Regions from separate parts of the Homo sapiens genome. Here all the other regions are linked to region 1. Evidence: promoter capture Hi-C in human tissues and cell types (Jung and others, 2019). All regions are on one chromosome and are shown on one strand. Each heading gives the region's core, a stretch centred on a gene start or on the middle of the fragment in contact. The rest is flanking DNA. Distances are from core to core; before and after follow the strand shown.

Evidence for each region. The method cuts DNA at HindIII sites, captures the fragments that hold promoters and counts their contacts. A contact is called where the count stands out against the background at its distance.
Region 2: a fragment that was not itself captured here is called in contact with the fragment with the promoter of MAPK13 in region 1 in 1 of the 25 tissues and cell types used here (adrenal gland).
Region 3: a fragment that was not itself captured here is called in contact with the fragment with the promoter of MAPK13 in region 1 in 1 of the 25 tissues and cell types used here (mesenchymal stem cells).

Annotation. Positions count from the first base shown.
Region 1 is chr6:36,128,660-36,132,035 of GRCh38, forward strand. MAPK13 (mitogen-activated protein kinase 13) reads left to right here and starts at 1,854. Exons shown (of 12, transcript NM_002754.5): 1 at 1,854-2,042; 2 at 2,612-2,741. The coding sequence starts at 1,924. RefSeq lists silencers at 1,750-1,999, 2,040-2,109, 2,750-2,859 and enhancers at 2,005-2,608, 2,500-2,619, 3,330-3,376. The HindIII fragment of the contact is 28,110 bases long and covers 1-3,376 here.
Region 2 is chr6:36,323,494-36,326,869 of GRCh38, forward strand. BNIP5 (BCL2 interacting protein 5) reads right to left here. Exons shown (of 12, transcript NM_001010903.5): 5 at 3,017-3,260; 6 at 1,790-1,921; 7 at 636-697; 8 at 1-40. Among named protein-coding and RNA genes, the nearest start is that of BNIP5, 12 kb to the right of the region's middle. The HindIII fragment of the contact is 8,343 bases long and covers 1-3,376 here.
Region 3 is chr6:36,256,923-36,260,298 of GRCh38, forward strand. It overlaps a transcript of PNPLA1 not described here. Among named protein-coding and RNA genes, the nearest start is that of PNPLA1, 11 kb to the right of the region's middle. The HindIII fragment of the contact is 3,475 bases long and covers 1-3,376 here.

The sequences.
Region 1 (3,376 bases), core at 604-3,103:
CCCCACCCTCATCTCAGAATGATCTTCCAGGCTGTGCCTGAGGCTGCAGGACTGCCCGGGAGGGCTTGGGGCACAGAGTTTGGGGGCTGCAGACTCCCTAGTGTGGGCCCCCGGCTTGCTGTAAGCCCCTAGCAAATTTCTTTCCTTGTTCAATAGACCTTCTTTTTGACAAAGTGAAGCAGGTGGTCCCCGCCCCTTCCACAGCCCCATGCCTGGGCAAGAGAGGGGTTGGACAAGTCAGGCTGGGCATCCAGAGCCCTTGCAGCCATCTCCTCCCCCCACCTGCCCACCTTGCTCCTCAGAGGCCTTTGTGGTTTGAGCAAAGAATCTCCATCAGGCTGCACAGGCCACCAGACAGGTGGCAAGGGCCCCAATTAGTCATTGTCCTCATAGAGCCTTAGGAAGTCCACAGAAACTGTGTTCAAAACTGCACATTTGGGCCAGGTGCGGTGGCTCACTTCTGTAATCCAAACACTTTGGGAGGCTGAGGTGGGCGGACCACCTGAGGTCAGGAGTTGAAGACCAGCCTGGCCAACATGGTGAAACCCCGTCTCTACTAAAAATACAAAAATTAGCTAGGAGTGGTGGTGTGCACCTGTAGTCCCAGCTACTCAGGAGGCTGAGGCAAGAGAATTGCTTGAACCTGGGAGGCGGAGGTTGCAGTGAGCTGAGATGGCGCCACTGCACTCCAGCCTAGGCAATAGAGTGAGACTCCATGTCAAAAACAAACAAAAATCCTGCACATTTGAACCTGCGTGGATATTTGGTATTATAGAATTAGTGCTATTAATTTTAGGTTTAAGAATGTATTGTGGGCCAGGCGCGGTGGCTCACGCCTGTAATCCCAACACTTTCGGAGGCCGAGGCGGGTGGTTCACGAGGTCAGGAGTTCAAGACCAGCCTGGCCAAGATGGTGAAACCCCATCTCTATTAAAAATACAAAAATTAGCCGGGTTTGGTGGCAGGCACCTACAATCCTAGCTAATCGGGAGGCGGAGGCAGAGAATTGCTTGAACCCGGGAGGCGGAGGTTGCAGTGAGCCGAGATGGCAACTGCACTCCGACAGAGTCTCAAAAAATATATATATATAGTATTGTGGATACGTACTTTTAAAAATCCTTACGTTTTAGAGATACAAAAATATTTATGAATAAAATGATATGACGCCTGGGTTTTGCTTCAAAACGATGGTGGGAGAGGAATGTGGATGAAATAAAATTGATTATGAGTTGTGGTTGCTGGGGAATTGGGGTCACGGGGGTTCATTAGAACCTCCTATCAGATGTGGTTCAGAAGCCTCAGACCTGGGAGCTGGCTAGAAATGCAGAATCTCGGCTCCACCCCAAACCTACTGAGTCAGGATCTGTATTTTAATCAAATAAAATGCCCAGGGGATTCCTGAGCACACTGAAGTGTGAGAAGCGCTGGCTTACTCTGTTCAATTCTTTCCTGCATGTTTGACATTTTCCATAATGAAGAGGTTGTGGGGTTTTGTTCTGCTTTCCTGTGTGTTCACAGTCACAGGGAGCTCTTCCTACGGAGACCGGGGCTGGAGGGAACTGGGAAGCACTGCCTCCCCGCTCCTGCTTGGACCCACCAGCCCCGCCGCTGGCCCGCGCTCGGCTGGGAGGCACCGGGGTCCCGCTGGGCAGCCCCGACCCCGTGCCTGGGCCGCACCTGCCGCAGTGGCTCCGTCGGGCCGGGCGGAAGCGCGGGAGCGCAGGGCTGGACAGGCCCGGGCGTGGCGGCCCCGGCGCACCTGGGCGAGCCGGCAGGTGGGAGCGTAGCAGCCCGGGGCCCCCGCCCTCGCGCGGGGGAGGAGCGGGCGGCGCGGGGCGGGCGCAGCGGGGGTCGGGGCGCTGGGAGCCCGTTGGGCCGCGAACGCAGCCGCCACGCTGGGGCCGCCGAGATCGGGTGCCCGGGATGAGCCTCATCCGGAAAAAGGGCTTCTACAAGCAGGACGTCAACAAGACAGCCTGGGAGCTGCCCAAGACCTACGTGTCCCCGACGCACGTCGGCAGCGGGGCCTATGGCTCCGTGTGGTGAGACCCCTGGGCCGCTGGGGGGCGGGGGGCGGGCGCCAGGCTCTCCCCTTTCCGCCCAGCCCGCCCTGGGCTGGCCCCTCGCCAGCGCCACCTTGACCGCGGACCTCAAGGCCCAGCGCCCTCCCCGGGGCCACCCAGCGGCCATCTCCCTTTTCTCACCGAGTGGCTGAGTGAGGTCTCTGGGGGTTGAGTTGGGACTGGGCCTGGTTCTCCAGGACTGTACACTTGCAAGACCCCAGAGTTCATCGGGCAGATCCTCACTGTTACAGACGAGTACACCGAGGCCCCAAGAGGGGGAGGTGGCTCGCCAAGTTGCAGACAGAGTGAGACTCCCGCCCTGCCGTGGATCCCGTCGCAATGAGACGTTGCTGCCCCTGGCGCTGTGCCCCTCTCTCAGCTCCTGCCTGGCTTCCTACTCCCTGCCCTGCGTCCCGCGGCTCCCCCATATTCTAGGTGGTGGGCCTAGTCCCCTCTCAGCCCAGCTGCCCAGTGGGAGGGGTCAGGGCGGTCTGGGAGATACGGCCCAGGAGGAGAGCCTCGCCTGCTGACCGGCCTGTGCCCGACAGCTCGGCCATCGACAAGCGGTCAGGGGAGAAGGTGGCCATCAAGAAGCTGAGCCGACCCTTTCAGTCCGAGATCTTCGCCAAGCGCGCCTACCGGGAGCTGCTGCTGCTGAAGCACATGCAGCATGAGAACGTAGGTGGTGGCTGCCCCGGGGAGGGGGTGGGGGCTGCCCTGGGGAGTCAGGGGCAGGCGCAGGCGGGGCCTCCCGGTATGGAGAGCTCGGGACAGTCTCCTCCCTGCTCCCCTGACGGTGCCTCTCGCCTCACTATTGAAAGGAGGGGGTGCCGAGACCTTCCCTGCCCACTTTCCAGGAAGAGGTCAAAGGGTATTTTTGGCAGAATGCACTTTGTGAGGTACAGACTGTGTTATCCTACAGAGGAAATTGGCACAGGGGAACTTTGTAATTGGTTCCATGTCTGAGAGCTTGTGGCCAGCTGGGACTAGAATCCTAGTTAGCGTTGTGTCCACGTGACCCTGATAACAATAGCAATATACACATATTGAGCACTTCCTATGTTCTAAGAGCTCTGCATACACTAACTTGTCTAGTCCTCATGATATATGAGTACTACTGCCCCCATGTCACAGACAGGAAACTAAAGCACAGCAAGGCTCACAGATTAGATGGTTAGTCAGTAGCAGAGCTGGGGTTTCAATCTCGGCAGCGAGGCTCCCGGTCTGAGCACATGACCATCAGATTGTCTTGTCTGATAGAAGCAGCTGGGAAAACCAGGGGCCCAGCTCAGGGCCTGGCAGCCAGGCTTTGC
Region 2 (3,376 bases), core at 277-2,776, 190 kb after region 1:
GGTTTTCTACACCCACCTCTTCCTGCTGGACTTGAGGTTGCTGTGGGGGAGATGAGAGAAACTGAGTCAGGGCCCCTGACCTTGAGGAGATCTCAGGTGAGGTGGGGAAAGAGAGCCACGGTGGGCTAGCAGGCGTTGCCCAGAGAAGAGTGGTTGATGCTCAGTGCTGGGGAAATATGTGTGGTCTGGAGGGGGCTGGGGAAGCTTCAAGAAGGAGGGACTGGGTCCGGGTGCAGTGGCTTACACCTATAATCCAAGTACTTTGGGAGGCTGAGGCAGGTGGATCACCAGGGGTCAGGAGTTCGAGACCAGCCTGGCCAATATGGTAAAACCCTGTCTCTACTGAAAATACAAAAATTAGCCGGGTGTGGTGGCGCATGCCTGTAGTCCCAGCTACTCAGGAGGCTGAGGCAGGAGAATCGCTGGAGCCCAGGAGGTGGAGGTTGTAGTGGGCCATGATCGAGCCACTGTGCTTTAGCCTGGGCGACAGAGCAAGACTCCGTCTCCAAAAAAAAAAAAAAAGGAGGGACTGGAGCAGGACACAGAAGAGCAGCAGAGACAGGGAAGTTGTTACACCAGGCAGGGTTGGGGAGCCCACAGTGAGGTCAGGGTTACATGGGGAGCGTCTTCCTCACCTCCTCTCCTTGCTGTTCTTCTGCATCTTGGAGCATGGAAATGATCTTCTGAATGAATTCTTCTGAAAAAGATCAACACGCATGGTTAACTTTGGTGCTACGAAATCTCTTCTGCGGTCAGTCTTCATTTCCTAATGCCCCGGTGGCTCCCTGGGTGATTCTCCAAGGGGGCTAAAGAGCTGCCAGAGGTGGCCTGAGGGCAGAGCTGGTTTCATGGGATACATATTCACTTTACCAATGACGGCCTCTAAATAGACACCCAGGAGGAGGCCCCTCAGGGCCATCTGGAAAGGCCCATTCCCTACAGGTGCCCTCATCCTGCACCTTCTCCCTGTCCAGGCAGAATTTCCCTTCAAGGCATATTTTCTATGAAAAGCAAACAAGGCAGAATGGCAGGGGATAGGGGGCAGAGATCTTTCCAGGTCTTTTCAGACCTGACGGTGATATTATATATATATATATATATATATATATATATATATATATATATATATATATATATATATATATATATATATATGTTTCTAGGCCTGGCTCTGCCAATGGTAAAATAATAATTACAGCGATGGCAGCTGCCATTAGCTGAGCTTCCCTCCCAAGGCCCCTACCCCTGTCCCTATCCTTTTTACTTCTGAGCTCTGCTCTCAAGCTGGGCCACCCAACAATGACAATAATAGCAACAAATGGCACCTAACACATATTAGCCACTAACAGGGGCTGCCCTAAATGCTGCCGACAATTCTAGAAAGCAGGTACTTGCTGCCCCCATTTCACAGATGAAGAAACTGAGACCAGAGATGAAGTAACTTGCCCAAGTCCACACAGCTCAAAGGGGTCACAGCCCAGACTCAAACCAAGGTCCATAAGATCACCCCATTGGCCGAGCCCTTGGTGTGGGCCAGCACTTTCCTCCCTTTGCCTCCTGTCTGCCTCATCAGGGTAAGCACCAACACTATCGCCATTTATCGAGGTTCAGACAGGCAGCCTGGCTTGGGCCTGGGCTCTGGGCCCCAAGCTGCCTCCCCAGCCTGCTGTACTCAGAGGGAGGTCTGGACAGGTCACTGCCTCTCTCTGGCTCAGTGTCTCTTTGCAAGTGGGGGAGTCAGAACAGAAGTTTTGCAAGGGGTGTCTGAGAAAAAGAGAGGAGTACTGACTGTATTCCGAGGCTCTGTCCAGCGGAAGCTCCTCTCCAGGTTCCTGGCTCTCTGATGGGGTGGGAAGCACGGAGGGACCTGGAGCCCCAGCCTCTGTAGATGGGGCCTCCTGGACTTTAGGTTCTTCCAAGCCTGAGAAGCAGAAGGAGAACGAGGGTGTGTTTTGTCTGTCTGGGGCTGTTAACTATGCACAGAAGCTAGCACAAACTAAAAGTGGGCTCCGTGGCTGGATCACATTAAGGACTTATGGGGCTGGAAGACAGCTGCTGGGCAGGGCTGTGCCTCTGATTTACTGGCCCAGACCGAGTTCCCTTATCCCTTTGTGCTTCCATAGAACTGGCTTTCCTGGGCTTTGCTGCCCTCTCCTCCCTCCACCATTTTGACTTGATCCACAAGTTGAAGAGTAGAGGCCTGGTCCCATGGCATGAATTAATGAATCATAGCCAGAATCCCCCTGCATGAAAATATCTCCCCATGGGCCTGAAATTCCCCTCTTTGGTGTTAAGCGTCACTCCCTCCTTTCTAAGATGTAAATTCTCCTGGCCAGGATGACCTAACAGGATGACCTGTTCTCCCTGATGCCCAGGAAGAAATGACTTGTCTGATCCTTTCCGCCTCTAGCTCTGGCCCCATCATCCATGGGCCATGTGGCCTTGAACACATTGTTTTACCTCCCAAAGCCTCAGGTCCTTCATCTGTAAGGTGGGGATAATAGTTGTACTCCATGTGATGGCTGTGGGGATAATAGTTGCACTTCATCTGATGGCTGTGAGGACTGATCGTGTTATAGATATGCAGCAGGGAAATGTCTCACTTTACAGGTGAAGAAATTGAGGCACAAAGATGGGGAATGACATAGACAATATGCTAGAACCCAGGTCTCCTGCCTCCCCTGCTCCAGCTCCTTCTTGCACACACTACTCCCCTCCCTGCCAGGGTGCAGAAGTTGAGGCGGCCAAGAAATGTTGACGGTTGGGAAATCCCGGAACATAATTTCCATCAAGGGCTTATTGGGGTTGCCTAGAGCTCGCTGAGGTGTTGTGTGTGGAGGTGACCTGCTGGCATTCTTTCTGTCTTCCCACAGTCATCCTCACACCACTCAGGGCAGAGTGCAAAAGTCAGACCAGGCACAACGCAACCTTTAAAATGGTCAATTCCATCCCCAGGGAAGGTTCCAGAGCTGGAGGCAGCTGCAGGGTTGCTATGGCAACTGCAGAGCCTGCTCACCATAGCTGCTGGAGATGGAAGGCCGATGGCCGCTGACACACAGGGGCAGAAAGCTGGACTTCTTGGGTGGCCAGGCCTCTGGACTGGAAACATCTGCAGCCCCCCTCTTGGCCTCCTCGGAGCCGTGTTTCTTGGGGTTTGTCTTTGAGGTTCTCTTGAGGCTTGTCTTTTTCTCTTGGGATTTCTTCCTAACAGCTGGTGCTGGGTTTGGCAGGGCCACCCCCAGCTGTGAGGCCAGAGATTGCTGTTGGGGAGAGGAGAAAAACTGGTCAGGTTCATGACACTGAGAGGGGGAAAGCTCTCTGGAGGCAAGTGAAGAGCAGCCAAGCTGCAAGATGGCCCCGAGAGAGGGGAGGCAGC
Region 3 (3,376 bases), core at 446-2,945, 130 kb after region 1:
AGGAAGTGGGGGGATATAGGCAACTTTAGAAGAAGAGTAAATGATTTTTAGGGGAGATTAACGGTTCTGAAGAACAGACAATAGCCTGGGACAAATTTTGCCTGGGATCTGGGTGTGGTGTCAACTCTAGTCTTCCTTTTTGCAATATGCATCAGTTTCCTCCAGTAGGTGAAATATGTGGGGAGGGGATTCACAACAATTTAATATCTTCCAGAGAAGCTTCTGGGTGGAGAACTTCAGAGAAAACCCTTCCCTGCATTTGCTGCTCCCCAGGTACTCTCAGTTTGAAGTCCAAAACAGCATATTTTAGGGTATCATTTTCTGAGCCCCAACAACGCTTTCTTTCTCATGTTAGTAACATAAAATCCAAACAGAAATTGCTTAAATAAGGATATTTTATTTTTCTCCCAGTACAAGACATTTGGCATCAGGGAAATTCTAATTAGTCCAGCGGCTCAGAGACATGATTAAAGACCCACATTCCTTCTGTCTTCTTGCTCTGCCATAGATGGCACAGCACATAGGCCTTGTCCTCAGGATGGCTATCCTTATGACCAGAAGTTGACTGTGGCAAAATAAACATCACATCCTGATGATGGCCAAAGGCAAAAAAATGGGTTATTGCTTGTTTGTCTTTTTCTTTCAGATGTTGTATTTTTCAGTGCTAGAATTCCCACTGAGGTCTTTTTACAGTTTTTGTTTATCTGCTGAGGTTTCCCTTCTTTTCATTCATTATGAGCATATTCTCATTTACATTCTTGAAAATGGTTATAATAGCTGCTTTAAAATTCTTGTCTGTTAGTTTTTACATCTGAGTTGTCTCAAGGTTGGTCTCCATTGATTCCTTTTTCTCTTTTGTATGGGTCACATTTTCCTGCTTCTAATGTCAAGCATCTTTGAACTGTCTCCTGAATATTGCGAGTGTACAGTGTAGGAACTCTGGATTTCTTTTGTTCTTCTGAAAAGTATTACTGTTTGTGTTTATTTGTTTTAGCTAGCCGTTAAATTGGCCGAACTCTCAAACTGAAAATGCTCTTCCCTCTGATGAATAGGAGCTGAAATCTTTATTTTATTTTTATTTTTGTAGAGATGAGGTTTTGCTACATTGCCCAGGCTGGTCTAGAACTCCTGGTATCAAGCAATCCTCCCGCCTCAGCCTCCCAAACTGCCTGGATTACAGGTGTGAGCCACTGCATCTGGCTGGGAGCTGAAATCTTAGTTTAGATAATTTAGCCTTAGCCATGCAGCTTGGAGTCTGTCCTGCACATGTGGGGTTCAGAGATTTGAGCAGAGTCTATACACAGAATTTGAGGCTACTCATTTATGGCTTCTTCTCCTTTCCAGGATTTCCTTCCTCACTTTCCAGCTGTGTAGTCACCAGAGCTCTGTCCTCTGGTTTTTCACGCCAGTACAAGCGTGAGCTTTACATCCTAGTTTTAACCACCCCACACATCCCTGACTAGGGGCTTCCCTCAGCAAACAAACTACAAAAAATTTTTTAAAAAATCCATTGCTATTCCCTTCTTCCAAGTATTGTCTCCCCTCCAATATCCATGCCTTTTGATCACTCTCCAGAGTTTTCATAGTTGTTTTTTATAATTTTGTCATGTGGGAGGTTTGTGGTCCTATGGGAGGTACTCAGCCACTACTGAATGCAAAATTTTTGTTAGTGTCTTTTTAAAGAGCAAAGACATCTTTCTCAGAATTCCCCAGCAGGTTTATTCTCTATCTTATGGACCAGAATTGTTTTCATCTGCTCTTTCTTAAACTCCTTTGTTCTGGGGTCTTCTTGTCCTGAAGGGCTTGGCTGCCCTGAAGAAGGTAAACAGAATTAGGATTTGTTTAGTCAGGAAGAAAGGGACCAGAATCCAATAAAACTTGCTACACAGAACTTTTCAGTGCCTTTAATATGAAGGTTTGCATTGTCGCTCTCCAAGTGCTTATCCCAATCTCACCTGCAATATTCCTTAAATGTATTTATTTGATTTAGAAGTCCTTTATCCACAGAGATTTGTCAGGACTGGTCTGAATTTCTGGAAGCAGCAGGGTTTCAAGGCCACCCTTTGGTCACAATGCTCAGTGTGCTGCCCCACTATGGCAGTCTGGCCAGCAGGTTCTGGGTTGTATCACCATTTCCAACTCATCATTGTGTTGTGAACCACAGCAATGGTTCAGACCAAAACTTGAGGTCTGAACCAATTGCTGGAACAGACCCTCCTAGTGACCAAGGGAGTATTATCTCAGTTTTGCACAACCTGTTCCTAGAAGGTGGATTTCTCATGAAAAATCCAAAGACAAAGGGTCTTTCCTTGGAACCACAGCTAAATTTAGGGCTCAGGGCTTTGTCAGTTATATTTAAGCTAAACTAAGCTGAGGAGTTGGTGACTTTCATGGGGTTATTGCTTTGCAGGTTATCTGGGGAACTCCTCCAAAACCATCGATTATCTGCTGCAAGCAGTTAAAACTGTGTTTAAAGAAAAAAAATACTGAAAAGGTGAAGTAAATATACTAGTAAAGACTATTTTGAAAAAGAAAGATCCCCGCAATCCCACCACACAATGGTTTTCACTGTACAGTCCCTCTCCACACACCCACATTTTTATGTACTGTATCTCCTTGATTATAAAATACTATCAGTTTCAAGATCCAACATCGATTTAGTAAAAGCTTTTCAGGAGAAAAAAAAAACACTGTGAGAACCTAATAAGAATGAACATTAATACTATACAGCCATAAAAAAGAATGAAATCATCCTTTGCAGCAACATGGATGTTGCCAGAGGCCATTATCCTACACAAATTAACTCAGGAACAGAAAACCAGATACCGCATGTTCTCACTTATAAGTGGGAGCTAAACAGTGGGTACTCAAGCACATAAAGATGCAACAGTAGACACTGGGATCTACTAGGGAGGGAGGGAGGAGGGCAAGAGTTCAAAAACTATTGAGTACTATGCTTAGTACCTGGGTGACAGGATCAGTTGTACCCCAAACCTCAGCATCACAAAATGTACCCAGGTAACAAATCTGCATATGTACTACCTAAATCTAAAATAAAAGTTGAAATTTTTTTTTTAAGAAATGAAAGACCATTGAGGCCAGGCTCATACCTATAATCCCAGCACTTTGGGAGGCTGAGGAGGGAGGATCACTTGAGGCCAGGAGTTTGAGACCAGCCTGGGCAACACAGTGAGACCCCATCTCTACAAAAAATTAAAAATAAGCAGGTGTTGTGTTGTGTGCCTGTAGTCCTAGCTACTAGGAGGCTGAAGCAGGAGGATTGCTTGAGCCCAAGAGTTTAAGGCTGCAGTGAGCTATGACACATCACTGCACTCCAGCCTGGGTGACAGAGTATGACCCTGTCCCTAAAATATAA